Linked DNA regions of Homo sapiens: regions 1, 2, 4, 5 and 6 are each linked to region 3. The links are contacts of gene promoters, found by promoter capture Hi-C in blood cells and fetal thymus (Javierre and others, 2016). All regions are on one chromosome and are shown on one strand. Each heading gives the region's core, a stretch centred on a gene start or on the middle of the fragment in contact. The rest is flanking DNA. Distances are from core to core; before and after follow the strand shown.

Evidence for each region. The method cuts DNA at HindIII sites, captures the fragments that hold promoters and counts their contacts. A CHiCAGO score of 5 or more calls a contact.
Region 1: a fragment that was not itself captured here is called in contact with the fragment with the promoter of DNAJB11 in region 3 in 6 of 17 cell types (naive B cells, megakaryocytes, M2 macrophages and 3 more); the score reaches 7.0 in naive B cells.
Region 2: a fragment that was not itself captured here is called in contact with the fragment with the promoter of DNAJB11 in region 3 in 1 of 17 cell types (total B cells); the score reaches 5.1 in total B cells.
Region 4: a fragment that was not itself captured here is called in contact with the fragment with the promoter of DNAJB11 in region 3 in 1 of 17 cell types (total CD8 T cells); the score reaches 5.0 in total CD8 T cells.
Region 5: a fragment that was not itself captured here is called in contact with the fragment with the promoter of DNAJB11 in region 3 in 1 of 17 cell types (naive CD4 T cells); the score reaches 6.4 in naive CD4 T cells.
Region 6: a fragment that was not itself captured here is called in contact with the fragment with the promoter of DNAJB11 in region 3 in 1 of 17 cell types (fetal thymus); the score reaches 6.6 in fetal thymus.

Annotation. Positions count from the first base shown.
Region 1 is chr3:186,261,323-186,266,215 of GRCh38, reverse strand. It overlaps DGKG (diacylglycerol kinase gamma), which reads left to right. Exons shown (of 25, transcript NM_001346.3): 14 at 910-969; 15 at 4,438-4,517. Among named protein-coding and RNA genes, the nearest start is that of DGKG, 98 kb to the left of the region's middle. The HindIII fragment of the contact is 4,780 bases long and covers 616-4,893 here.
Region 2 is chr3:186,244,237-186,248,990 of GRCh38, reverse strand. The region is part of intron 19 of DGKG (diacylglycerol kinase gamma); the gene reads left to right. Among named protein-coding and RNA genes, the nearest start is that of DGKG, 120 kb to the left of the region's middle. RefSeq lists an enhancer at 788-837. The HindIII fragment of the contact is 2,541 bases long and covers 2,217-4,754 here.
Region 3 is chr3:186,567,077-186,572,012 of GRCh38, reverse strand. DNAJB11 (DnaJ heat shock protein family (Hsp40) member B11) reads right to left here and starts at 1,293. Exons shown (of 10, transcript NM_016306.6): 1 at 1,048-1,293. The coding sequence starts at 1,115. TBCCD1 (TBCC domain containing 1) reads left to right here and starts at 4,674. Exons shown (of 8, transcript NM_018138.5): 1 at 4,674-4,746. RefSeq lists silencers at 1,042-1,281, 4,481-4,770. The HindIII fragment of the contact is 6,099 bases long and covers 1-4,091 here.
Region 4 is chr3:186,910,607-186,915,643 of GRCh38, reverse strand. No RefSeq gene overlaps it. Among named protein-coding and RNA genes, the nearest start is that of ST6GAL1, 17 kb to the left of the region's middle. The HindIII fragment of the contact is 207 bases long and covers 1,828-2,034 here.
Region 5 is chr3:187,026,397-187,031,230 of GRCh38, reverse strand. The region is part of intron 2 of ST6GAL1 (ST6 beta-galactoside alpha-2,6-sialyltransferase 1); the gene reads right to left. Among named protein-coding and RNA genes, the nearest start is that of ST6GAL1, 98 kb to the right of the region's middle. The HindIII fragment of the contact is 2,635 bases long and covers 1,332-3,966 here.
Region 6 is chr3:186,209,881-186,214,840 of GRCh38, reverse strand. It overlaps DGKG (diacylglycerol kinase gamma), which reads left to right. Exons shown (of 25, transcript NM_001346.3): 21 at 2,956-3,046. Among named protein-coding and RNA genes, the nearest start is that of ETV5, 100 kb to the right of the region's middle. RefSeq lists an enhancer at 4,286-4,913. The HindIII fragment of the contact is 8,579 bases long and covers 1-4,960 here.

The sequences.
Region 1 (4,893 bases), core at 1,756-4,255, 310 kb after region 3:
TATGAAATTCAAAAGCCAGGCAAAACCCATGTGGTATCAGGAGTCACAACAGGGTTATGCTTGAAGAGGTAGTAGTTACGAGGCCATCCCCATATACAAAATTCATCAAGCTGTACAATTTAGATTTGAGCATTTTACTATATGTGAGAAAACCTTAATAAAATAAACATTAGAAAAACAAACAAAACCAAGAAAAATGACAATATCATATCATTAGATAGTGCTCAGCCGAAAAGCCAAGTCGACGGCCAGGCGCAGTGGCTTACACCTGTAATCCCAGCACTTTGGGAGGCTGAGGCCAGCGGATCACGAGGTCAAGGGATCGAGACCATCCTGGCCAACATGGTGAAACCCCATCTCTACTAAAAATACAAGAAAATTAGCAATTAGCTGGGCGTGGTGGCACGCACCTGTAGTCCCAGCTACTAAGGAGGCCGAGACAGGAGAATCACTTGAACCCAGGAGGCGGAGCTTGCAGTGAGCCGAGATCACACCACTGCACTCCAGCCTGGCAATAGAGCGAGACTCCGTCTCAAAAAAAAAAAAAAAAAAAAAAAAGAAAGGAAGAAAAGCCAAGTCGCCAAGTCTAAGAATTTTCTTCTCAGAGCTCAAGCTTCTAAATCAACCAAGTGGAATTCTGCCACTTTCAGTGCTCCCCACTATGTCCCTTGCCTCAAAGGTAAAGTCAGCCCGTGATGTCATCACTGGAGGCCTGAAGAATCCTAGAAAAAGTCATAGGGGTACATTTCTTTATTTAGGTCAGAAGCCCTATGTTGAAAACCTCGTCTCCATACTACACTAGCTTTCTGATCTCTTTCTTTATATCAGCCGTTTGTTTTTCATCTGATCTCTTTCTTTGTGTTAGGCTTCTTTTTCCAAAAGATGCTTGTCTTTCCTTTCTTGTCACAGGACAGGCCAGGTGAGAAGTCTGATGGCTGCGTGTCCGCCAAGGGCGAACTTGTCATGCAGGTACCTCATGAGCTCTAAATCCGATTGCACCTTCTAAGTTGTTCCAGGGCTGTGGCGGGCAAGACGGGGTTTGGGTTCTACAGAAAAGCATCTCAGCATTTGCCTTCTCATCTGACTAATTATACCACCCAGGAGGGCATTTATTTGTGGCCTCTGGTGTTACCTTTGACAGCCACACTGTCAGCAAGTGGTGAGAGGAAAGGTTGACTGATCCCATTGCTGGTCTTATTGGGCTTTATTACTATTTTAGGAAAAAGTTACATAAAACTTTAATATGCAGATGTCCTAAATAATAACAAAGATGTGGCCTAAAAATAGACAATGGGTTTTTCAAGATTGCCAAGCTGTCTCCAGAACATGATCTGCCAAAATGAAGCTAACCAGATCTAAAAGTTCTTCTTAATCCTTAAATGTATACTTAAGAACTCATTTTTTTTACTTGGGTTCAGCAATGAACATTTTTTGTGTCTTCCACAGAGTTCCAAGGAATGCAGGGAAGGCAGCCTGGTGAGGAACAAAGAGTACTAGAAAAGGAAATAGAAAACCGGGGCCTCCTGCTCTGCCTCTGAGCCTTAAGTTTCCTCCGCTCAAAGGAGACACAGTAATCCCTGCCCTGCCCACCTCCCAGAGGTGCTGTAAGATTAAATGAGAATATACAGATTCACGTGTTGTGAAAAGTAAAAGGCCGGGCGCAGTGGCTCACGCCTGTCATCGCAGCAGTTTGGGATGCTGAGGCGGGCAAATCGCCTAAGGTCAGAAGTTCGAGACCAGACTGGCCAACATGGTGAAACCCCATCTCTACTAAAAATACAAAAATTAGCCGGGCGTGGTGGGAGGTGCCTGTAATCCCAGCTACTCGGGAGGCTGAGGCAGGAGAATCGCTTGAACCTGGGAGGTGGAGGTTGCAGTGAGCCGAGATTCTGCCACTGCACTCCAGCCTGGGCAACAGAGGGAGATTATGTCTCAAAAGAAAAAAAAGAAAAAGAAAAGTGAAACATAAGGCCGAATGAGGGGAGAATCTTAATATGTGAGAAAGCTCTAGACACCTAGAAGGGCAGAAAGGTGGGAAACACACACAGGCGCATGCATATCCACACCCGATACATGTATGCCAGTTGTTTAGGGCAGGCAGCCATCGGGTTGTCTTGCATCTGTTCTGATGGGGCAGAGCCCCCACTGTAGGACTGGCTGTTAAATACGTTGAATATCATCTCCAGAGGTGAGGGTTTATTCCTCAGCCTCCAAGATGCTTCTGGGCATCACATAGTCACCCTGGGCAGGTGAGACAAATTTTTTAGATCATCGGAAATGCTACTATCCTTTTCAAACAACATGGCACTGTGTTTGCTGGACTTTTAGCTTGAGATCTGGAAAAGCAGGCATTAGATATTGAATATGGAGCAGAGCTGTGCGTCCACATTGGTGTATCCTTCCACTGAACCCACAAGTATTTGCTGAGCACCCACTCTTGTGTCTGGTGCTATAGGGTCCTTGGTAGTAGGGTTACACACACCCCACTCTGCTCCCAATGCATTTTAAATCCAGTTGATGTTTTGAGTCATTTATCTAAGAAAGTAAAAAAAAAAAAAAATACAAATGAACAACAAAAGAAACTCCAGAAGATAGTACATGGTGCGTTTGTTTGCTTGCTTGCTTGCTTGCTTGCTTGCTTGTTTTTTGAGATGGGGTTTCGCTCTTGTCTCCCAGGCTGGAGTGCAATGGTGCGATCTCAGCTCACTGCAACCTTTGCCTCCCGGGTTCAAGCGATTCTCCTGCCTCAGCCTCCCAAGTAGCTGGGATTACAGGCATGCGCCACTACACCCGGCTAATTTTTGTATTTTTAGTAGAGATGGGGTTTCACCATATTGGCCAGGCTGGTCTCGAACTCCTGACCTCAGGTGATCCGCCTGCCTCAGCCTCCCAAAGTGCTAGGATTACAGGCATGAGCCACCATGCCCAGCCAATAGTACATGTTTTAAGTGCAATCATTTTAGTTGCAATGATGAAGGGAAACTTCATAGAGATGTCTCTTGAATTGAGCCCTGAGGATAAGCAGGTTTTTGTTGGTGGTGGTGGTGGTGTTTTTTGTTTGTTTGTTTGTTTGTTTGTTTTTCTTTTCCGAGACGGAGTCTTGCTCTGTCGCCCAGGCTGGAGTGCGGTGGCGAGATCTCAGCTCACTGCAACCTCCACCTCCCAGGTTCAAGCGATTCTCCTGCCTCAGCCTCCCGAGTAGCTGGGATTACAGGCACCTCCCACCACGCCCGGCTAATTTTTGTATTTTTAGTAGAGACGGGGTTTCATCATGTTGGCCAGGCTGGTCTCGAACTTCTGACCTTGTGATGCTCCTGCCCCGGCCTCCCAAAGTGTTGGGATTATAGGCGTGAGTGATCATGCCCAGCCAAAAATTTTTTTAGTAGTCTGCAAAGAAGGAAGTGGGCATTTCGGGACATGGAATGGGAGAAGAAACAAGCACGAGCAGACCCATGGGTGGGAATGCAAGAGACACACTCTAGACTTACTAGAGGAGCAAGAGCAGGACTTGGCTGCACCTGCAGCTGAGGGTTAGCAGGAATTAGGAGATAACAGTAGAATAGGGCTAGACTGAAAAGGCCTTTGATGCCAGGTTAGGAAATTTACATTTTATCCACAAAATCCAAATCCTCCTTTAATAATGAGATGTCTTTACAAGTTTTTGGGCAAGAGTGGTATGGCTGACCTGGTGTCCTGGGAAGGAACTGTGTGGGGATGGTGTGCAGGACTTACCTAGGGTGGGAAAGGCACAAGCAGCATGGGGCTGTGGCAGCTACCAGAGGTAAAGGGACATTTCAGGGAAAGACTTGGCAGGACAAGACCTTCCTTGGATGGATGGATGAATAACAGAAACAGGGAACCAAGAGAAAGGCCGAGTTTCATAGGGAGAGAAGATGGGTCATGTATGAGGCATGTTGAGCTTGTACTGATGGTGAGACGTCCAGTCGACAGTACTACCCACTGGCCAGTGAGAAATGTGGGACCAGGGTTCAGGAGGAAACTGGGGCCGGAAATGAGCATTTGGAAGGCGCCAGGGTGGAAGCGGGTGGTTCACTCCACGAGTGCTATTTCACTTACGCGTATGATCAGACGGCCGTGCTTTCTAAGATCATATTCAGCTGTGTCTCCCACAAAATTTCATCTTGTGCTGTAGGTACAAGACCACGTCATCGTTGAATGATTTGAAGCTACAGCATCATTGTCCCATCGCTGATCCTGACCTCAAACCCTCATTTCCGTTAACACTACTTAAAGGCCATTCAAACTGGAGACACTTAGCTACTTAGCCCCTCCGAAAATTCAGCCAGTGGAAAAACACCTGACTGCCTGCCCTCCTGCTTCTCATCTGCCTCTCCGAAGCTGTCTTGGCTTCAACTCTCATCTCACGCCCCCTATTGGATGAAGCAGAGCTAATTTCTTTTTCTTTTACCTTTCAAGTATAAGATCATCCCCACCCCGGGTACCCACCCCCTGCTGGTCTTGGTGAACCCCAAGAGTGGAGGGAGACAAGGAGAAAGGTACGTTCTCTTCTGTTTCAAAGTGGAGCAACTAGGGCGACACGACTCAGGCCCTTCCTCCCCTTGGCAGGAACACAGCAGGCTGTGGAGACAGGCAGACTCAAATCCCAGCACTGCCACCTGCCACTTTATGACCTGGCCCAAGTGACTTAATGTCCCCGGGCCTCGGTTTCTCCCTCTGTAAAATGGAGATAATTATCATTCCTCCTCTCACAGGTGAGAACAGACACGGTGCTTAGCCCACAGCCTGCCACGTGAGCCATTATTAAGACCACTAGAGTTAGACCACGCTCTGAGATGCCTGTGCCTTTCTAGCCTCTCAGATCTCTTGATTTAAGAGATGATGGGCAGCCCGTTGATTAGGACCTGCTGGGCT
Region 2 (4,754 bases), core at 2,238-4,737, 330 kb after region 3:
ACAGTTAAAAAAAACTCATATGTCTTTTTCCTATAGTAACCAGAACATAACTTGCTAACATTTATTGAGTACCTACTGCACACCAGACATAGTTTCCCTGCCAGTGGAGGCAGGCATTATCCATTTGTGTTTTGTAAGAAGGAACCATAGCTTAGAGAGGTACAGAAACAAGTTCAGGCTGGTGAGTGGCAGAGCTTGGAATCATAATATTTGAACTCTAGAGCCAACTGAGCTGTGGACCACTGAGCTTTGTGCCTCCTTGAAGCCCCCTCCGTCTTCATGTTGCCAAATGTAACATGGTTTGAAAGAGGGGAATCTCAAAATTTAGTTGTGGTGGCTCACCACCACCTCTTATCAGAAATGTAAATTCCACCCCCACAACAGATGCTGATTCATATTCCAACTCAGTAGGTCTGGGTAAGGTCTGGGAACTGGCATTTTTAACAAGACCCTGAGATCATTCTGATGCAGATGGTCCTGACCAAGTTCTCAGGGAGTGAAGACAACCTACTAGAGCAGAGAAGAATGGTCAAAGGAAGTGGCTCTTCGCTGGCATGGAAGCCGGAACTGAAATAAATGGAGAGGGAAGCAAGGAAGGAGGGGAGAACTAGCCCTCTAAGCAACGGGCTGGAAGCCAGAGCTGAGGAGCAAGACTGGCAGAGCTGCCTGGGAACTTCTAGACAGCAGGTTACAGCGCAGCTGCCTGCAGAAGCTTCAGCCCCACCTCTTCCCTTTCTAACACACCCAGCTCTGGCTGACAAAAACATGGTTCCCCACACCTCCCTGTCTCAACACAGTGCCCTGTATAAGATGGCCCTCCTTAGTATCTGCTGACCAAATGGATGAACACACAAAGAGGAATGGACAGCCTTCCCTCAACTAAATAGCCAGGCCCTAAACCCAAGAGCCAAGACTATTCAGTAATCATAGTTTTAATTTATTCTAGCAAAAAAAGTAGGAAAAAAGGAAGGAAGGGAGGGAGGAAGGAAGGAAGGAAGGGAGGAAGGAAGGAAAGAAGGAAGGAAGGAAGTCCTGCTGGCTGGCTAATTAATTGTCCCCAAGGAAACACATATAAACAGATTCTCCATCACTCTCAGTGGTCAAGATAATTTACCTACCTTGGGCTGACTTATAATAATCCAATCTATTCATCTTTCCAATTATGAACAACTTCACAATATCTTTCTTGTAATTTTTTTCATACACCTTTAGCTTATCCATGTTTAATATTATGTTGCAGAAGAATGAGAAACCAGGGCTGTTCTCATCTCATTGGTGTGCCCTTGGCTTTCTCTCAATAAAATGTTTGCAGGGTTTGTATGCTCGCTCTTTAAAAGTTGAAAAGAGAAATTCTTGAGAAAACAAGTAACCAACACGCAACCCTAACAGAGTCTGGGGCTGACATTTGCAGAAGGTCTTGCTCCCTATTTGACTTCCCAAACTTTGTAAGAGAAGTAGGTATGTAAACCGAGGAAGTTTTACTTCCTTATGATGATCAAATAGAGGCGGACTCCACTGGCAAAGAGAGCCCTGCCAAGGTCTTTGCCTCTTTTGAAGGACCTAGAATATCTTATGATAGCAAACATCTGTTGCTTTGTATTTATAAAGATGATGACAATGACCTCTGAGACAGTGCCCTTGGGTGCTGTGGGTAGAATTTTCTCTGATGAGTTTACTGAGACCCCTTGATGCCAACAGAACCCATTTAATAGCTGAGGGAATAAATAAGGCAGGGTCTCCTGGCCTCTCCAGGGAGTGACTGTGCCCTCATTGCTACGACAGCCCCATCCACACATCAGTTTCTCACCAGTGAGAAGCTAAGATCGTTGGCCTTATCAGTCCTTCTAACTGATAATATCTACTGGCAGGAGATTTTAAACACAGTCATTCAGGATGCCACTTCCTCTGACTTCTCTGGCCTGCTCCTCCCTGTTCTTTATTTTTAGATTAGCAGAAAATGTCAGGATGGCCAGGTATCAGTGACAGGAAGTTTGGGACTACAAAATAATTCCCAAGGTATGTGTAACTCTGAACTCCTCACAAGCTCTGCTTTCATGAGCCTTAACAGGACGGGTGAACAGCTAATCCCTTGATTCAGTGAAATCTATTTCTGATGCTAGGGGAGCCCAAGGGCCAAGGAGAGGCCACAGTGGTTGCACTGACCCACGCACCGTTTTCCACCTTGCAGATCGTTCCTAGCTATCACCAGACAAGCTTCCCACCATGATAAGCGTCCTACACATAGGGAATTTCTCAACAAGACATAATTTTTCCTGCAGATTCTTGGATTCTGCTGGCACCAGGTTATTTGTCACCTGTGAGAGCCATGAAGATACTAATACAGTGGGACTCCCCAGAGGGACGTGGACAAGGGTCTATACCCTTTTCCATTCCCCAATCTCCCATAATTTTCAGAACAACCCCAATTTCAAATAATCTGTCTTATGGTCTCCTTTCCATCTTTTTATCTCCGTAAATTGCCAAAGTGACTTAGACCTGTGTTATCCAATGTAATAGCCATCAGCCACATGTGGTATGACATGCTTGAAATGGGGCTTGTCTTAATTAAGATGTTGAGTGAGCTGTAAGTATAAAATATACAATACTTTTCAAAAATGTGATATAAAAAATTAATGTCTCAATAATTATTCTATTCCATGTGATGATAATATTCAAGGCTTATTGGGTTAATGAAAATATATTATTAAAATTAATTTCAGGCCAGGCGTGGGGGCTCACACCTGTAATCCCAACACTTTGGGAGGCTGAGGTGGGTGGATCACCTGAGGTCAGGAGTTTGAGACCAGCCTGGCCAATGTGGTGAAACCCCGTCTCTACTAAAAGTACAAAAATTAGCCAGACGTGGTGGCAGGTGCCAGTAATCCCAGCTACTTGGGAGGCTGAGGCAGGAGAATCACTTGAACCCAGGAGGCAGAGCTTGCAGTGAGCTGAGATCATGGCACTGCACTCCAGGCTGGGCAACGGAGTGAGACTCCATCTCAAAAAAATAAAAAAATTTAAAAATTGTTTTAAATATTAACTTCATCTGTTTTTTTTTGTTGTTGTTGTTTTTTTGTTTGTTTGTTTTTTGTTTTTACTTTTTTATGTGGCTACTAGAAAATGGTAAGTTACATTTACATGTGTAGCTTACTCTGTATTTCTATTGGATAGCACTGGCCTAGATACTCCAATATCTCAGAGTCCAAATGACTGATGCATGTACTTGGAAGGGGCCCAAATTTCTTTGTCCACCCATGTGCTTGGAGTTGTAGTTCAGGAAAGAGGCTCTATGTCCATACCTTCCACCATCTCCTCTTCACCCCACACCTGAAAGAAAAGACCTCAGAGAGTAAGGCTGTGAGAAATGCTATCATCACTTCCATGGATTTGTAATTCCCATCTCCTGCCTTCAGAACAGAAGTCTCGCTTTGCCTTAATTATCATCAAGAAAGGGTTTACGCCTTAATAACCAAGAAAGGGTTTGAACCATCGTAGCCCTGGTTTCCCAAATTTAAATGAAGTCACTACTGATTGTAAATATGCTCAGGTCATTGCCTGACATAGAAGCTCCAGAGAGTGAAAGTGAATCTCGACTCTCTTTTTAATCCCCAGATAGAGAAACGTGGTCAGAGTCTTCACCCTCATTGCCTTTTTAAGACTTAGAAAAGGAGCTGCTCTACTCTCCCTTGCTACTTTGTGTATTTGCCAAGGGATTACATTGTCAAATTAGGGACCACGTGCTTCACTAATAATGTTTTAAAGGCTGGTCTTTGTAAAAAGCATCTTTGCAAAACCTAGTTATGGAAAAACCAAAGACAATCAGAACTGCATGGAAGGAGGGGGCCTGTACACATATCCCGGAGAATAAAAAAGCTGGGAGTCAATCAGCAGTATTGGGGGTAGGGGATAGCGAAGTACAAATTGTGCCAGGCAACATGTGATTGCTTTTTTCTTCCCCGCCCCCCTCCACTTTTTTTTTCCTGACAGACGAAAATTAGTGCTTCAAAGGAATAGAAGTAGATGGAATATTTTCTCGAATTTTAGAGAAGCATTTGACAAATGTCACATGAATCTTATTGAGGGTGTTCACTGAAATTTGCTCAGAGAGTGGGAGGTGGGTACAGTCTGGGAGCATGAAGTGCTGCTGCCCAGGGAAGCGGTGCAGGCTGGATAGGCCTCAGGGACAGAGGCCTCTCTGGGGTCCGCACATCTCACCCGTGCACCCATGGGGGTGCCTCTCCAAGACCTTAAACTCTTAATATATCTTAAGCTAAAAAATAAATTGGCCAGGCCTGGTGGCTCATGCCTGTAATCTCAGCACTTTGGGAGGCCAAGTTGGGCAGATCACCTGAGGCCAGGAGTTTTGAGACCAGCCTGGCCAACATGGTGAAACACTGTCTCTACTAAAAATACAAAAAATTAGCCCGACATGGTGGCGGATGCCTGTAATCCCAGCTACTCATGAGGCTGAAGCGGAAGAATCTCTGGAACCTGGGAGGTGAAGGTTGCAGTGAGACAAGATTGTGCCACTGCACTCCAGCTTGGGTGACAGAGTGAGACTCTATCTCAAAAAAAAAAAAAAACATCAATAGCTAAAGTTTAAATTTTAAACTCTCAAAACATCATTTTAGCAAAGAATGTTTGCCAATCACAAAATAAGCCCATCTTCTCCTCTTGCCCTGCCACCTTTCAGATGTGGGCTGCTGGACTCCTATGCCAGGTGCACCTCACCACACAGAGTTCATGCTCAAAAA
Region 3 (4,936 bases), core at 44-2,543:
TTTAGGTTTGTATCTGAGCAAAGAGGTATAAAAATGAAGGTTTATGTGACACATACACACACAAAGAATGACTAAAGAGAGAACACCAGAATTTGTAATGAATCTTATATATTGAAGTAATCACAGTAAGAGGCTATATACTTCTTTTCGGATTATTCAAAACATCTGTGGCACTTTTCTTTCAGAACCACCTTCGGTCAAGAAAACCACTTCCTTATTTTATGGTCTCATGTTATCTTTAGGCAATAACCATATAATCAAATTAACTCTTCCCCCCTTTCCCTATACTGGCTCCAAATGATTTTGACTTTTCTAAAAGTCAAATAACACTCTCAAAGGATGATTTTCCTTCTTTAAAAAGATTATGCCACATAAATGTCCTAACAGTAGCACTGCCAGAATGTTAAAGATGAAGCAACTTAAGATAATAAATAGCTCAAGAAGCTGGGAAGTACAAGGGCTGTCTAAAGATCTTCTTGTTCCCATCCCGCATCCAATTTCGTTCAGTCCCAACTCGGGCTGGCATCATCCACCCACTTTAATGTCAGCCCCAGAATGGCTCTTCGAAGGCTTGGCATAGAGCATCGTCCGCTTCTCCACCTCAGCGGGGCACAGCAACTCACCTCTTTGATCAAACAAACGTCCATCCCCTCAACCTCAGCCTGGCACTGTCACTATCTTTCCTTACAGTCAGGCATCCCTCTTTCTTCCCCAGCTCTACGTGACACTGCTTCAGCTCGCAACCACCTTCTTTCCCTCATCCCCCAAATGCCGTTTGGCAATGCATCCAACTCCCACTCCTCTGGGCAAATCTAGCTCTACCTAAGACCCTCTCTGGACCTAAGGCCCTCTCACTGGTGTCACCCACGGTTCTCCTCTCACCCCACTAGCCTGGCCCATACTACCCCTTCCTCCGCCACCCCGCCAACCCACAGCGATGCCCCTCTCCACTCCGTCAGTCTGGCAATGCCACTTCCCCCACCCCCTCCCACCCCCCAGCAAAGGCTGACCCACAGGCCCCGTTGTCTGCGAGTGTCTGTTCCTCACCCGGCAATCACCGCCCCGATGAGGTATAGCAGCAACAGGCAAAAGGTGCTCAGGTTCTGCGGAGCCATGGTTCCTCTGTCCCGGGTCCTGTTCCACACACTCCTCACAGCCTCCTCCGCCGCCGCGTCGGCTCGCCAGCCCACCCGGCCCTGTGAGGCCGCCTCACACCGGGGGGGCGCGGGGGTCTCCTTGGTCCGCAGAGACAGCTAGCTAGCCCCCTCTTCTGCCGGTCCACTTCCCGGGAGTCCCGAGTCCCGGTGAGAGAAGCCCCCGGTAGGCGAGAGCCAATCGTTGCCCGGGACATCACACGCGGCCGGCGCCTGGAAGCCAATCAGCGCAGTACACTTCACCTCCGAGGCGGCACGGGCAACCAGTTAGGCTTCAGAACTGCAGTCGCAGCTCTTGACCAATTAGAAGCGGAGACGTCAGAGGGTCGCGCCGCTGCAGGAACCCGCTCTGCCTGAGCTACCGCGAGTCGTAGAAAATTACGTAATGATAGGGGGCCGGTCAGAGTGAGGGCACCTGAGGTACACGAAATCCCTCCGGCTTGCCCACTTCCTCGGACTTTCCACCAATCAGGAGCTTCCTCCCCAGCACCAACCAATTGTGGGAGAGAAGTTTTCTCTGTGCTACAAGCCCGGAATTTCATTCATACCCAGCTACGCTCCGAATGAGGGAGCAGAGGTACAGCGGCCGAATGAGCGGGAACAGTTATTCCACGACAGGTGTACATCAGACGCATTGCTTAGGCCTCTTATTTTACGTTCTCCAAGCAACTCCATAAGACAACTGTCTCGGAAAGGCTACAGTGATGACAGACCGACTTAAGTTCGGATTCGGCTTCCACCGCTTCTTAGTGGTGAGACCCCCCACCCCTCCCCTCCTCCCAAGTCTGAGCCTAAGTTTATCAACAAAACTGAGGCAAAGCACTTATTGGCAGTTCTGTGAATTTTAACAGGGAAAAAAATCGGTAAATCATCGGGCGTATAGTAAGCAGGCAACGAGTAAAAACCATTATTACGGTTCAAGCAGAACTCTTTGATTCCCCATCTTCCCCCCGATTTTGCTCATCGCAGTTACACAACACCTAGTTGATCAGGACAAAGCTCTAGGTGTTTTTATTCCTTTCATGCATAAGCTATCCAACTCTTTACCTCTGAACTATACTTCAATCTGTTCACTACATCTCCATTACCAGGATTCTGGGTCACAGTGTATCTCTCACCTGGCCAGGGCCTCCTAACTGGCCTCCTTGCCCCCACTCTTAATATCTTCCTTAATATCTTAATATATGTTGCTCATCCCTGTCCCTCACTCCATGATTTAAAAAAAAAAAAAAAAAGCCCGGGCGCGGTGGCTCACCCACCCAAAGTGTAATCAGCACTTTGCGAGGCCGAGACGGGCGGAGCACCTGAGGTCAGGAGCTTGAGACCAGGCTGGCCAACATGATGAAACCCTGTCTCTACTAAAACTACAAAAATTAGCCAGGTGTGGTGGCGAGCGCCTGTAACCCCAGCTGCTCGGGAGCCTGAGGCAGGAGAATTGCTTGAACCTGGGAGGTGGAGGTTGCAGTGAGCCGAGTTCCTGCCACTGCACTCCAGCCTGGGCGACAGAGTGACACACCGTTTCAAAATAAATAAATAAATAAATAAATAAAAAATAAAAGTCAAATCATGTCACTCCCCTGTTTAAAAGCCTGGAATGGCTCTTCATTTGCACTTAGAATAAAATCCCAACTCCATGCTAGTTTACAAAGCCGTTTATGCTTTGTAAACCTATTATACTCCTAACCATGCTCCAGCAAAACTTGCTTCCTTTCTTTTTTTTGTATACACCGAGCTCATTCCTGCCGAGGGCCTTTGTGCTAGCTATTGCCTTTGCCTGAAACACTGTACTCTCCCTCATGTGCTAGCATGGGTGATTCCTTCTTTAACTCATATATCAGCTTAAAGGTCGCCACCTCAGGGAGGACTTTCCCTGACCAATTAATCAAAATTAGCCCCTACTGAGTTCCTTACTCTTACACCACCCTGTTTTCTTTTCTTTATTTCTTTTTTTTTCCTGAGACAGAGTCTCGCTCTGTCGCCCAGGCTGGAGAGCAGTAGCGTGATCTTGGCTCACTGCAACCTCCGCCTCCTGGGTTCAAGCGATTCTCCTGCCTCAGCCTCCCGAGTAGCTGGGACTACAGGCGCACACCACCATGTCCGTCTAATTTTTTTGTATTTTTAGTAGAGACTGGGTTTAACCATGTTGGCCAGGCTGGTCTCGAACTCCTGACCTCAAGTGATCCACCCGCCTCAGCCTCCCAAACTGCTGGGATTATAGGCATGAGCCACCACGCCCGGCCTCCTATTTTTTTCATCCCTGGTCCCTAGACTTACACACTGAAATGCCAGTTTCATGAGAGCATGAATCTATATTGTTCTGTTCACAGCTGTATAAAAGAGCACCTTAGAACAGTGCCTGGCATGGAGTAGGTGCTGAAGTACTTTTGAGTCAAAGTTACTGGGATGGTGATCATTGTATGGCTGGCTTCTTACTCTTCAGGCCTCAGCTCAAATTTGGCACCACAAAGTGGCCTTCCCTGACCCCCCGCCCCAATTTTCATAGCATTTTTCACTATTTGAAATTATCTTATTTTATTCCTTAATATGTATTGTCTATTCTCCCTGTTATACACTCCAAGAAAGCAAGGACCTTGTCTGTTTTGTTCACTTCTGTCATTCTAGTGCGTACCACTGTGCCAGACACACAGTGGTACTCAACAAGTAACAGCAGGGTCACTGAGCTAATAAGTGGTGCAGCCTGGATCCTAACCCAGGTATGTGTAAATTTGAAGCCCCTGCTTTCAGGAAGATACCCAGTAGGGACAATGGCCACACAAAAGAGGAACTAAATTGCATTTTACGGTCTAATTTACCTTTGTATCTATCACACCTAGAGAGGCCATAAAGGAACTAAAAAAAGCAGGAAATGTCCAGAAATTCTGAAATGGAAGTTTAAAGGAAGGAGTGATGGCTTCTGCCCGGTAATCTGAAAAAGCTTCATGAAGGTGGAAACACGGCAGGAAAGCTAACAGAGTTAAGGAGCTGACACCGAGGGGCGGCAGGGAGTGCCAGTCTTGCTTCAGACGCCCTGGGCTTGAATCTTGGCTCCATCTCTTGTGTGACCTTAGGGTTGTGTTATTTTCACCTTTCTAGGCCCTAGTTTCTTCATCAGTAAAACGAATGTACTTAAAGGGCTCTTGACAAGACTTAGGAAATACACATAAAGTTGCTTTACACAGTGCTGAGACCATAGTAAGTGCTCTATAAATGCAAACTGCCATTAGTATTAGTAGCATTTCTGATGAAAGCGTGCTGATCTTACCAGCAGCTATTAGCTGACCACAGTTATGCGGAGCAACAGAAAGCTTCCTACCCCCCCGGGTTGAAAGGCGCGACACCAGAAAGCGGTGGGTCTGGCTCCAGGTGCCACTGTTGCGGACTCTCGACCCCAGCCTAGATTTTCTCAGACGCTTGAGCCGCAATCTGCCGCTCTAGCAACGGGGTCCGCCAGGTCTCGGTGGTGCGGGGCCTCGCGCTTGCGCAGTGGGCACGGCAGCGGCGCGCGGAGGAGGGTGAGGGGCGGGCCCAGCGAGCGGACGCCGGGCGCGGCGGCGCGCGGAGAAGTGCGGCGGAGCGGCGCCTGCATTAGCAGGTAACCGCGCACTGGGTGCGCCGGGGAGGGCGGTGTGGGTTAGTCAGGCTTCAGGCTTGGGTCGAGGAGGCTGCCTTCGCGCTTACCGCGTCTCGGGTCAGCTACCGACCCTGTCAGCGTGAGCGTCTGTGTTCCTGAAGTCCGGTCGCGACGCTGGGGCGGCCCACGCAGAGTCCCACCCCGGATCGCG
Region 4 (5,037 bases), core at 682-3,181, 340 kb before region 3:
AAATAAACAAAGAAACAAACAAAAACAAAAAGCCTGAAGGCACTAAAGAGTAAACAGAAGCAGACAGAATCCGGGGGGAGTCAAAACTTGGATAAGTGAAATGGCAAGGGGTGAGTTTCCTATTTTTATAGTTTTGTAGCCTGAGCACAGGCTGAGGTTGGTACTATGTGGGATAGCTAAAACTCTAATACAGCATGCTAGAAAGCAGGAGGTGGGAGGATACTAGAAAGAAATGAGCCAGAGTAAGAAAGACCTGGATCCTGTGTATAAACTCTGATCAAGATTTGGGCAGATTCCTGAACCACACTCACATAAGGCATGCTCAAATCAGCCTACCTAATGGTAGTGAAAATGACCCAAGAGATAGAGTTTTGCAGTTTGAGCTCAGCTAAGTTAAGTGCTTGCTAAAACAAAACACCAGCATTCTCAGAAGAACATAATAGGACGTAGAATCTCCAGAACATCAAATTTATAATGCCTAAATATACTCGAAAATCACATACCATGCACAGAGCCAGAAAATATGATCCAAAGTTAAGAGAAAAAACAGCACAGAGCCAGAGAATATGATCCAGGATTAAGAGAAAAAACAATCAACTTGGGCCAACCCCAAGCAGCAGATAAGAACTCTCAAGCAGGTATTACAACTCATCTCAGCAAAGTAAAGGAAAGTATACTTTAATGAATGAAAGGCAGGAAATCTCAAACAAGAAATAGAAACTATGTAAAAAAGAACCAATGGAAACTTAAAACTGACAAATGCAATATTTTAAATTAAAAATTCACTGGATGGACTTGATTTAAAAAAAGAGAGAGAGAATTTTATAGCCATAGAAATTGTCCAATCTGATGACAAAAAAAGTTGAAAACATTGAACAGGGTCTCAGGGACCTGTAGTACAATATAAAAATACCTGCATACAGGTAATTGAATTCCAGAAGTAGAAGAGAGAATGAGACCAGAAAAAAAATTTTGAAGAACAAATGGCTTAAATGTTCCCCAATGTGTTGAAAGACATACATTTATAAATTAAAGTTCAGTGAACCCCAGGCAGCATACATGTAAATAAAGACACATATAGGCCTATCATAGTCAAACTGTTGAAAACTAAAGAGAGAATTTTGAAAGCAACCAGAGAAAAAAATGATACCTCACATAGTGGAGGAGTCATTTGAATCACTTCTGAATCCTCATGAGAAAATATGGAGGGCTAGGCACAGTGGCTCACGCCTGTAATCCCAGCACTCTGCGAAGCCGAGGCAGGTGGATTACCTGAGGACAGGAGTTTGAGACCAGCCTGGCCAACATAGTGAAACTTCATCTCTACTAAAAATACAAAAATTAGCCAGGCATGGTGGCACGCAGCTGTAGTCCCAGCTACTCGATAGGCTGAGGCAGGAAAATTGCTTGAACCCAGGAGGCGGAGGTTGCAGTGAGCCGAGATTGCACCACTGCGCTCCAGCTTGAGCAACAGAGAGAGACTCTGAAAAAAAAAAAAAAGAAAGAAAGATAGAGGAGGAGGGAGAGAGAGAGAAAGAGAGAGAGAAAAGAAAGAAGAGAGAAAGAAAGAAGAAAGAAAAGAGAAAGAAAGAAAGAAAGAAAGAAAGAAAGAAAGAAAGAAAGAGAAAGAAAGAAAGAAAGGGAAAGAAAGAAAGAGAAAAGAAAAGAGAAAATATGGAGACCAGAAGATAGTGGACCATCTTTAAAGTGTTTGCAGGGAGAGAAGGAAAGAACACCTGGCAATCTAGAATTCTATATTCGTTGAAAATATCCTTCCAAAATGACATTGCAAAAAATCTACCAGCAGCAAGGAAAGAGATTCAAGCTTATGCCTTAGCTGTCAAAAAGAAGTTGTCAGAGGAAGAAATATAAAGTTCTGGTGTGGTGACACAGGGATCATAATTTCATACTTACCTTTTCTAGAAGTAGTGTGAAGGGAAGTAGATACAATGGCAATATTTCTAATAATTTTTAGGAATCGCTCTCCCTGTTTCAATCTGCAGAGAATCTGACTGAGAGGATGAAAAGGAAGCTTGAAGAAAAGTCAAGACAAAATGCTTAGAAGCAGAAGCCACTACATACCACCATAGAAATTGCAGAACAGCCAGGGCCTGACAGCTTCCAGAGCATGTGCTGGCTTAGGGAAGGCACACAGGAGCGGGGTACAAAATTGGACATCTTAATGAGATCTCAGAAAGTGTCATGCCCAGGTCCTCTAGCAAGGGCTGTGCGCAGCTCCATGCCTTCCCTATGCCCTCAAATTACGGAAATGTAGACAGCAAGCAGCCCCTGTAGTCCTGATGGAAAGACTACTGGGTTTTTTTTTGTTTTTTTTTTTTGAGACGGAGTCTCGCTCTGTCGCCCAGGCTGGAGTGCAGTGGCGGGATCTCGGCTCACTGCAAGCTCCGCCTCCCGGGTTCACGCCATTCTCCTGCCTCAGCCTCCCAAGTAGCTGGGACTACAGGCGCGCGCCACTACGCCCGGCTAATTTTTTTTGTGTGTTTTTAGTAGAGACGGGGTTTCACCGTTTTAGCCAGGATGGTCTCGATCTCCTGACCTCGTGATCCGCCCGCCTCGGCCTCCCAAAGTGCTGGGATTACAGGCGTGAGCCACCGCGCCCGGCGACTACTGGGTTTTACACATGATAGAAGGGCTTCAAGGAGAAGTCACCCACATATAACCAAATAATGGAACGAGATTACCAAACCGTCTGTGTCAATCACGGGCTAGATAACAAAAAGAAACAGGGCAGAAGCTATGAAAGCATTCGATATAGAGAAAAGTAATCCAATCTGGAAGAAAACGTAGCCCAAGCCAAGGAACAGTGCAATACTCATTGTGAATTTATCACTCTTCAGACATATATCACATTCTAATAAAGTATACGATTTTAACAAAATAAGAACACAAAGACAAAAGGATAAAATAACAGCATAAGATTAAAAGGGAGATTAAAGTACTAAAGAAACAAGTTGTGTAGCAAAATCCCAATTTACATCTAACAAATAACCTAGAAAAATAACCAAGTAACACAATAGAACCAACCGAGCATCAAATTATTTTTGTGGAAGGAAGGCTTGGTATAATCATAATGAAAATAGAAAGAAAGGATAAGGAATTTAAGACATGTAAAGAATAGATGATAAAAACCACCTAACATAACAACTACTACTGTCCTGGAAATAAGAGTTACAACAATTAACTAGGGAAATTATCTAGAAATGTAATACAGGAAAATCTCTCCAAAGTGATTCTGTTTTTCACTCAAGAAGATGCATTGTTTTCCAACAATATTGGTTGAAAAAAGATATTTAGGCGTATGCCTGTTAAAGTTGAAGGCAAAAAAAAAAATTCTTTAAATATTCAGAAAGAAAAATCCAGTCACCTCTCAGGGTTTTTTAAAAAATCAGATTTTTCTCTAAAGAGCAGTGCAATGTGGCCGGGTTTGGTGGCTCACGCCTGTAATCCCAGCACTTTGGGAGGCCGACGCGGGTGGATCACGAGGTCAGGAGATCGAGACCATCCTGGCTAACACCGTGAAACCCCGTCTCTACTAAAAATACAAAAAATTAGCCAGGCGTGGTGGCGGGCGCCTGTAGTCCCAGCTACTCAGGAGGCTGAGGCAGGAGAATGGCGTGAACCCGGAAGGCAGAGCTTGCACTGAGCCGAGATCGCACCACTGCACTCCAGCCTGGGCAACAGAGCGAGACTAAATTAGACGGCTAATTTTTTGTATTTTTAGTAGAGACGGGGTTTCACCGTGTTAGCCAGGATGGTCTCGATCTCCTGACTTCGTGATACACCCACCTCAGCCTCCCAAAGTGCTGGGATTACAGGCATGAGCCACCACGCTCAGCCTAGTTTCTATTTCTTTAAATTAACTGTGTGAAGCCAATCAAACTGCCTGTGTAGGTTAATATATAGCCTGCTGGACCCAGGGTGGGGCCCTGCTTAAAGGGTTTAAAAGAGTAGCCAATATCCCAATATCTCTCATGGTAAAGAAACATTACCTGAATCTCAGCAATCCTTTTTTCACTTTTTTTTTTCTTTTTTTGAGACGGAGTCTTGCTCTGTCGCCCAGGCTGGAGTGTAGTGGTGCATTCTCGGCTCACTGCCACCTCCACCTCCCAGGCTCAAGTATTTCTGCTGCCACAACCTCCCGAGTAGCTGGAATTATGGGAGCATGCCACCACGCCTGGCTAATTTTTGTAATTTAGTAGAGTTGGAGTTTTGCCATGTTGGCCAGGCTGGTTTCGAACTCCTGATCCACCTGTCTCGGCCTCCCAAACTGCTGGGATTACAGGTGTGTGTGCCACTGCGTCAGGACCTCTTTTTTCACTTTTAAACAACAGAATATAGAATATAATCCTAGGTTATTAGTTTTGAATTTATTTATGTATCATTCTAACATACAAATCCACTTGGAAATATCTATAAGCATGCTCACAAATTTTAATTTTATTTCTAAATGGTGGGATATGGAGGTAATTTATTGTTTTCTTCTTTCTACTTTTCTGGATATCATGTTATCACTTTGGTTAAAAAACAAAAAAAGCCCAACAACCATTTTTTTGAGCAAGAGAAATGGGAAACTTGTTTAAATTCGCATAGATTGAAGCTGGGATGGGAACTCGTATCTTCCAAACTTTAAAAACTACGAACCTGGCCGGGCATGGTGGCTCATACGTGTAATCCCAACACTTTGAGAGGCCGAGACAGGTGGATCACTTGAGGTCAGGAATTCAAGACCAGCCAGGCCAACATGGTGAAACCCTGTCTCTACTAAAAATACAAAAATTAGCTGGGCATGGTGGCACATGCTGTAATCCTAGCTACTTGGGAAGCTGAGTCAGGAGAATCGCTTGAGCCCAGGAGGTGGAGGTTGCAGTGAGTCGAGATCACACCACTGCACTCTAGCCTGGTTACAGAATGAGACTCACTCTCAAAAAACAAATAAATAGGCTGGATGCGGTGGCTTACACTGGTAATCCCAGCACTTTGGGAGGTCAGGGCGGGAGGATCACCTGAGGTCAGGAA
Region 5 (4,834 bases), core at 1,400-3,899, 460 kb before region 3:
GTTCCCATGGGGCCATGCCCACTCAGCTTCCAACACCAGCTCAAGTGCTCCTTGACTCTCAAGCTTCCTTGGCCTCACAGAGATGATCAGCATAACTCCATGGTGCCTATTCTTCCCCTCATCAAACTATGTGACATTTATCTGTTTGCAGATCTGTCCCAACCAGATTGAGAGCTCCTGGGCCACAACTAGGAAATGTTCAGTCATGTCTGAATGCAAGAATGAAGCTAGCTCCTGACACCATCCCTCCCCACTGCCCACTGCCTTCAATTGCTACAGCCACTCCCTCCCACCTACCCACCCATCACCTTCAGTTGCCAGAATCACCTTGACGGCACCATCATTGCAAATGTTCATTTTGCCTGTTGGATACACTGAATGACAGGGAATTTACTACCGCCCCAGACCACACACAACTGTGTGAGTAGCTCTGCCTCTTAGAAATATATTAAAGTTAATGAAAATCAACTTCCCTGTAAAAATAAATCCAGTGTTGCAGCTGGGCACGGTGGCTCACACCTGTAATCCCAGCACTTTGGGAGGCCAAGGCGGGCAGATCACTTGAGGTTAGGAGTTCGAGACCAGCCTAGCCAACACGGTGAAACCTCATCTTTCCTAAAAATACAAAAATTAGCTGGGTGTGGTGGCGGGCGCCTGTAATCCCAGCTACTTGAGAGGCTGAGGCAGGAGGATCGCTTGAATCCGGGAGGCGGAGGTTGAAGTGAGCTGAGATTGCACCACTGCACTCCAGCCTGGACAACAGAGCAAGACTCTGTCTAAAAAATAAAATAAAAAATGAATAACTATAAACCCAGTGTTTTAAGCTCTACTCACTGGAGCCACATAGACTCAGATGGTGAACCTCTAACACTTGTTGCCTCTAGCAAGTGTTAGACTGAACCTCTAACACATGCTATTTGTCAGGCTCAAAGTGAAGAGCATCACATGCATCAATGCATGTCATCCTCACAGAGACCCTGTGCAGACAGCGCTACCTATGACCCCACTTACCTGGCTGCAGCCATCTTCTCCCCCACCCAAAATACCGTGCTTCGTTGCCTGAATATTTTAGCTCCAACACTGTTTCTATCATAACTCCTTGTGATATTAATATCCACTTTTAGGATATTCTAGTCCTCTGGCCTCACAGTCCTTTGATCTCCTCTACCCCAGTGATTGTGACCACGGCCACTCACTCCCAGAGTTGTATCTCTGATCTTGTTATTTCCCAACAATACCTTCCATAATCTTGAGTTCAGGCATCCCATCTCCAATTACCACTCCTGTCTATATGCAGCCTATTCCAACTAGTACCCCAACTCCAACAAGCTTCTGTGGTTAATCCTTCCACCTGTCACTGTTCCTCACTTTCCTCATATTCTTACTTCCCTTCCTACACAGCTTAAATTCCATGGTCAAAATCATTAAAATGAGTCCTTTGCCCTCTTTGATCACACATGATTGGCTAAAACTCAATCCTGGTTAAATCCAACCCTCTGTTCTGCTCCACACCAGCAAACATGCAACTGAGCATGGCTAGAGAAAATTGTACAACAATGCTTACTGATTTCACTTCAAGTTCGCGATCCCTAACTGCCAGGAGGTCCTTAATGCTTTTCAGAAATCACATGCTACTTGTCCAGTCTATTCATCTGGCACTCGCCCACTACTTGACTTCCTCCTTTCAATCTCCCTCTCCTGTGATGAATTTGCTACTTGTTCATGGAGAAAACAAAAGCTGCCAGATTAGAACTTCCTCAAACCCCCTAACAGAGCCCCCTTTATCTGCATTTATGTCCATATGCCTCATTACTATAGATGAACTGGCTATGTCCAACACTTGCAATAACCAACACTTGTCCACTAGATCCTACACATTATTGTTTACTTAAGAAAGTTGTTCTAGAAAACCTCACCCCTTTGTTTAATTGATAAGTATCCCTCTCTCAAAGATTACTCCCATCAACATATAGACACGCTGCTGCTCTTAAAAAGCAAAATCAAAACACCTCTCGTGAGTCAAGCAGCCGTGACCTGACCCTGATCAGTCTTTTAGCATCATTAACAGTGAGACATCTAGATAGTGTGTGCCTTCTGATGTGACGTGACATGAAGCACCTATGAAAAATTCTTTTTTTTTTTAGAGACAAGGTCTTGCTTTGTCACCCAGGCTGGAGTACACAGTGGCACAATCTCTGTTCACCGCAACCTCCACCTCCCAGGTTCAAGCGATTCTCCTGCCTCAGCCTCCCGAGTAGCTGGGATCACAGGCGTGCACCACCACGCCCTGCTAACCACCTATGAAAAATTCTTGCCCAAAATGTTTAATCTGTATATTATCAAGCTGTCATACACAATTCCAGTTTTTAGGAAATACAGAAGAAAGAAGAACAAGTCAAATAGCGCCAAAGGAAAATTATCAGACAAATCCAGAAGGTAGGACTTCCTATGGGACAACTGAACTGGTTTCATCAACAAGTAAATGGGAATAAAAAACAAATGGCTTCGCAGATATAATAATATGTAATACGTACACCTTGTCTGAATCTTGGTTTGATTCACCTTGGGGACAAATGGGGATATTGGAACATAGATTGGTTATTATATGGTATTAAGAAATTATTGTTAATTTTGTTAGGTGTATAAAAGTATTGTGGTTATATAAAGAAAAAGTCCTATGCATGTGAAGTAGTAAGAGATGAAATCTACTTTAAAAATCTACTTTAAAATACTCCAGCCAAAAAATAGATTCAGCAAATATGAAAATAATGCAATGTCATTTTTTGGATGTATTCAAATTAAGCTATGTAACAAGACTGATTTTCAAACTCCTTTCTTCTTAGACAGTGATATAGTTTGGGAGTGGGGAGAGTTTTAAAGAGCTTGAAGAAAAAAGTCACGATAGACAATTGTTTCTGTTTTACTCAAGGAATTAACTAAAAGATATATGACTTTAGAGAAGTCATATATTGAGCCACTTATTGCATGAGTTCTAAATAAACTCCACTTCCCTGCCCTGACCCTAAACCTCTTGACCTCATTTCTCTTCTTTAAAATGCCTTATTTCTCTTTCCTTTACAGTAAAACTCCTTGAAAGACAGTCCATAGTCTTGTTTGCAATAGCTATCTTCCCACTCTCACTTGAACCCACTCCAACCAGGCCTCCCCATCTCCATGAACCTGATCTTGTCAGAGTCACAAGGACCTCCACGATCTCCACATTGCTAACCAAATGGTCAATGTTCAGTCTTCATCTTATTCAGCTCATCAGCAGTCCATAACTTCCTCTTCCTTGATGCATATTCTTCACCTAGCTTCCAAAACCTATACTTCTCCTGGCTTTTCTCTGCCTTACCGGTAATGCCTTACTGGTCTCGTTGCTGGCTCCTTCTCTTCTGCCCCACTTTATGCACAGAAATGCCCTAGACCTGCCCTTTCTCTACCTATACTCACCCTCTACTGCTTGTGAGCATCTTGCGGTCAGCTCTCCACCTACCCAGCCCCCTGCAGTTTGAGCTCAATACCTGTTTGTTGAAGTGCACTGAGTCCGGAAAGTCGGTTCTGTCAGTGAGCTTCTACAGAAAGGAAGCCTTTGAAAATTTTTTTTGAGAAAAGAAGACGGGGCAAGAAGGGGGGCCGGAATAAAACACTGCACTCACTTCACTATTTACCCTCTTATCTGTTATCTGTAGAGAGGAGGCAACACTGAGGAGCACAGTGATTCTCAGACTTAGAGCACACCCAAATTATTAAAATCACTTGTTAAAATGCGGGTTCCTGAATTCTGTCTCAATCATTCTGATTCAAGTAGTCTGGGAGGTTGGGAGAATATTGGGGGGAAGTTGGAAATCTGCATTTAATAAGCACCCCAGGTAATTAATTCTCAGGCAAGTGGTGAGAAACAGGTCGCTGAGAACAGTGCTACTGAAAGTGAGATCTGCAGAGAAGTGCTAGGCTGAGAAAGCTTTTCAAGATGCAAGATGAGAAAAGTACAGAAATGGAGTGTAAGTGACTTTTACAGTAATTTTAAAGAGTAATTTTATGCCTGTTAGATCAATACTTTTTAAAATGGGGCTTGTATTTCAAATGTCCTTTTTCTCATTTCATGATTCTGGAATCCATGCTTTTTTATTTATTTGTTTATTTTATTTTTTATTTTTTATTTATTTATTTATTTTTTTGGAGACAGAGTCTCCCTCTGTCGCCCAGGCTGGAGTGCAGTGGTGAGATCTCGGCTCACTGCAAGCTCTGCCTCCAGGGTTCACTCCATTCTCCCGCCTCAGCCTCCCCAGTAGCTGGGACTACAGGTGCCCGCCACCATGCCTGGCTAATTTTGTTTTTGTGTTTTTAGTAGAGATGGGGTTTCACCGTGTTAGCCAGGATGGTCTCGATCTCCTGACCTCATGATCCACCCGCCTCGGCCTCCCAAAGTGCTGGGATTACAGGCGTGAGCCACCGCACCTGGCCCCATTTTTATTGTATTTTACGTAACTACTGATGTGAGAGGAATTGGGAAAAAAAATTTGGTTCTTCACCACCAATAGTTTGAGAAGCCTTGGCTTTGGAGAAACAGTTCACTCAGGCTCTAGTCTCAAAAAGCTAGATTGAAATCCTGGCTTTTGTACTGTAAGTTATCTTAGGCCAATTAGTCAGTTTCTGTGAACCTTGTGTCTTCATCTGCGAAGGATAACAATACTTAAAAGGTTGCCTCTGCAGGGCTGTGCTGACAATTTAATGATAGATTTTTATCACTTTATTTTAGCTAATAATTAATGAGCTTTTACTATGTGCTAAGTAATTTACAGGCAGTAAAGGTCCTGTAATTTGGTGAAGC
Region 6 (4,960 bases), core at 1,366-3,865, 360 kb after region 3:
CTGTCTGTCTTTTCCAGATGTCCAGGAATGCTATTTTGTTCTTTGTTGTACCAGGCACACCTTCTCTAGTCCCTGGCACAATGAATGTCTGTTGAATTGATGAATACTTTGTCTCACACCAAACATGCACTTTCTCCGAAGTATATTAGCAATTAGCATCGCTTTGGCCAATTGTGTGACCAGTCAAGATAATTAATCAAGGATTAGGGCATGGTATGACTCTGGAAAAATCTATTAAGGACATATGGGGAGCATATTTTTTTCACCAAAAATCAAGACACATAATTTAATAAATATGATCACATTTTTTCTTGCCCAGAAAAATATTAATATATAATATCTATAGCTACACATCCTTATCTGTCATTTTTGCCTCACTATATTATCCAAATATGCCAGCTCAAGACACTGAAATAATAATAGCTAATAAGTAAGTAGCTGGCATTCTTGATGAGCCTGCTATACAGCAATCCTATGTGAAGTGCTTTGCTGTTATCTCATTTAACTTTTCAACTACCTCTTGAAGCAGATATTTTTCTTATCTCTATTTTAGAGATGAGGAAACTGAGGCTTAAAAACATTAAATCACTTGTCAAAGGTTACACAGCCAGCAATGAATGAGTAGTCCGTTTGATCTTCTCAGTTATTCTGCGATGCTGACCTAACCGTGACCTCTTAACCTTTATTAGCTCATCAGAAGAGCTACTACTGGGCAAAAATAGCTGTGGCTTCCGGAAACTTTTATTGAAACTCTAAATCTCCTGGCAATAACTTTCAAAAGTCATGATTCAGGCCAGCAGTGATATTTGAAAATGGAATCACAAGCAAGTCTCCTGGCTACAAAGATGCTCTTGCTGCCAAAAAGGAATGCTCAGCTTTGACATTTATGACAATCTGTGTTTTTCCTGTTACTTAGTCTTTTGCCATCATTGACTGTGGAAAGGCACTGACCCTCGTTCTGTCCTCCCTGGAGAATTCTCTCCTTCAGGTTTAACTGGTTCTGTCCTTTTCCATGTTTTCATTTCACTGGGATCTACAGCAATGTCCTGTCCACTGACCATCTGCATAATGATCACTTGGACACACATAAAAATGCACAATCCTGGGCCCCGTTCCACAACTCTCTCATAGAATCTCTACAGATTGGAGCCCTGGAAGCAGCACTTTAATCACATTCCCCAGGTAATTCTTATAAATACCAATGTTTGAGAACCACAGGCATAGTCTCCAGATCCACATGACTCACAGTATCCCCTGGACCAGCAGCACTGAAGATGAGGAATCTTGGGCCCTAACCCTAAATCACTGAATCAGAATGTGCATCTTCATAAAATCCCCAAGTGATTAGATATGCACATGACTGTGCATGCAGAGAACCAGTCATCTAGAACAATGTTTCCCCCAATTATTTTACATCATCATGGCATGCATAGAAAATGAAAATCTATGTGTGGCACACTGGGAATACAAATGAGAATGTTTGCCATGGCATTGGGGCTCAGCCTGTCCCAGATCCCACCTGGCTGCTCTGCAGGCTGAGGAGACTGACATCCCAGGTACGCCTGTGCCACAGCACATGGGTTGAGAAGCACCGGTCTGCTTACAGTACACCCAGCTCTTCTAATTTTGTTCATGAGGCATAATTCCCAGAGCTTGCTTACTCTTACTTTCTTCATCATTTATTAGTTCTTTTCATGCATACTAAGAGTCAGAGAAGCTATTTCCCAACCAACTAGATCTCAGAAGTCTTCATACAATGGAAGAACACAGTTTCATCTTCAAGTTCTAGGTAGACTCTTGGGGAAATCTGCAGAAAAGAGTTGTGTCTATTATTCTGGAGAGTCATCTGCTACAACCTAAGGAACATGAGGAAAAAATAAGAGCCCTCTTCCCTCTGAAGACTGCTCCTTTCCCCTTCATCTGCAAACCTGAGGAGAGAGGATTAGCGCCATGCAAGGTGGCATCCTCTCTTCTGAGTGCCAAGAAGAATGTGATTTTGTTTAATCCTTCCTTAGCAAAATCTGTCAGCTCGTAAACTGGACAGGTGTCCCTTCTCTTAGCCAACCCCTGATAATGGGGTGACAGTTGGGGTGGAAGGAATGGAATACCTTCAGAAACACTTCCCAGTGAGACCATCTGATCAAAAGCACCAAGTGTCAGGACACACCATCTGACTTTGCAAAGCCCCCAGCTACACGGGAACCCCATTGATTGATTTTTTTTTTCTCTCAAGGAAAATGCTGAAAATTTTTAAAGCTCAAAGTAGTGAACTCTTACTTTGAAGCAAATATGACAAGTCTTGCCCTTAACTGAAGGATTGCCATGGCCTAAGCAAATACATTTGAGGAAGAGGGGAGGTGATTATTGCTACCAATCAACTCTTCTTTTTTTCCAACTTGCCTGCAAGTCTGTATCTAATTCTTGCCACTCTGCTTCCCCCAGTCAGAGCCTGGGCAATGCAGCACACATTTTAGCTGGGTTAGTGTGGGGCTATCCCTCCTCTGTCCTAAGACTGCACATCCCTCAAGTCTTAGAAGGATCTTCCCTTTACACCCCAAACATACCCAAAAGAGAGTTCTGCCTGAGTAATGGAAAGGACAGTGGCCAGAGCACTGTATTGATATTTGCCACCTCTGGCTTGACTTCTCGTAGAGCTCTTTCCTTAATGCAGCTACAGAGACCTTCTTCCTGTTCTGACCAGGAAACTCGGGGAGCAGTTGGTAGTTCACCCAGGGTTGCCGTGATGTCTAAGAAATAAGTGGATTTTCTCTAAGTTCCGAGCAAGAACAGTTGGTAAAAAATTTCTATTCCTTGATCATCTGATTAACAAGTGCTGAAAATGTAAGATTGGGGAAATTGCTGAAGGCTTGGGCCTCCCAATCCAAAGAACATAGCTATTTTACATGAGCATTTCAAGTATGGAATATTGAGACATCTCTCTGCTTTGTGGTCCAGGATGAAGAACAAGCTGTGGTACTTTGAATTTGGCACCTCGGAGACTTTTGCAGCGACCTGCAAGAAACTCCACGACCACATTGAGTTGGAGGTAAGTTCCCAAGTGGGGAGAAGGCTTCCTGGATCTTGGTTCTGCTCCTGGACTGTCACACATGCACAGGATGTATCCTCTTGGGACCTTAAGAGGTGACCCAGAGCGTAGTCTCTGTTGTTTCTCCATCCTGTTCCAAAACACCTCCATACGCTCACTCAGAAGGCTCCAGTGGCCTGTCTAGAGAATCCCTGGGGGGCTTTGGGACTCAGAGGCCCCGAGAGCCCAGAGCCACACTTCATTCCAGCCCTCAGCCCTCCTTCCACCGTGGCCTTGCGATTCCCTCTTTTCTGAGAGATAAAGTCTCCATTGCCGTCAGCACAGGGAGAGGGGCTGCTGTTGGAGAGACAATGTCCCAAGCCTGGTAAAAGTCTGGGAACTGGTGTTACAGGGCAGCAGGGGTGGGGAGTATAGGGGCTGCAGCCAGACATCCCCCAGCTGACCTGCCTTGATTTTCACATCTGCTTCAGCGAGCTGACTCACAGGTACCCAGGGTCAGTTTTGTGGGTGTGCAACCTGTGTGGTCACAAAATGTCCTTGTGCTTAGAAGGGCCCTTGATTTCATCCTATGCTGTCACTGTCTTGAAATCCTTGATAATTTTCTAACAAAGAAGCTGGCATTTTCATTTTGAACTAGGCCCCGCAAATTATGTAGCCAATCCTGTTGGTGCACTTGTGTTTCACTAACTCTTCCGGCACTTGTAGGGGCCTGCCTCAGACAGTCTGCCTGCTGGCTCCCCTCCCCTGGTTGATAAGCTGCCCACTTCCCACCCTCTCACCCCACGTTGGCTGGGCTTCGCTCCGGAAGCCCTCTCATTGATTGCCATGAGGACAGCTCCTTGGTGTCTGGCCACCTGAAAGCCCAAACTTCTATGCACACCTGCTCCGTGGGACTTTACGCCCATTGGTTCTCTTGCCCAGAGTTCTTGCTACCAGGCCTACCTTCCCGTGGGATTTAGGCCCGTAGTCTTCTTTTCACTTGAGGAAAATAAGTGGAAGAGGCAGCCAGAGAGTTCAGCCAGGGTGGGCTCCTCTTGGCCCACCAGCTTGGCCTCTAAGCCCGCACTGCAGTCCAGTGGGGCCTGGGCCTCCCTGGAGGAGGCACCTGTGGCCTGGAGTGGTGTAGGAAAGCCCTGCCCCTCCCTGCCGGAAGGGCCCCTGTGCTCCTCACTCACAGGGAGTTTTCACAAACAAAACACGAAGCCAGAGGTTCTGTGCGGCTGCATTTGACTCATCTGCCTGCCTCTCCTCTTCGGTTGCTGGGTTACCAACGCCAGGGTGGGAGGCGCCGATCTGGCTAATCCCCTGAACTTTTGGCCAGCTTGGTAAGAGGGCAGAGAGGCCAGGCGCCAGGTTGTGTGTCCCCAGGTGGCACACAGGGAGTCTGAGAAGCCGGTCCTCCTCTCTTGACGTGTGAACGCAGTGCTGGGAGCTGAGGAAGGAGGAGAGGCCTTGGCAGGGGAACCGAGTGTGGCTAACAGGGATATGTGTGCATTTTTTCCCCTTGGCACAGCCGTCTGGTGAGGTCTCTTTAAATATACCACAAGTGAGGGACAGCCCTGGCCTAACCACAGCCAGCTGCAGGCGCACAGCGACTGCTTGTTCTCCCTGCAGCTGGCCTTGAAATTGTGCCCAGAATACAGCAACTCAGCTCCCCTGCCTCTGGCCTGCCCTCCCGGCTCCAGGCCCCACAGTCCCCTCTGGGTTTGAGAGACAGAGGCTCTTCCTCAACCGCAGAGGGGGCCTCGTTGCTAAAGACACTGGTGGCCTCTGGAGGGGGTGGGGTTGTTCACTGGTCTGGAGGGAGGGTGTTGTTGGGAGCTTTCAGAAGCACTTCCTGTTTTCCTTATCTCTCCATAATGAGTCTTTTTAGTATTTATTCATGAGGATTAGCTGGGGGAGTGGGGCTGAGCG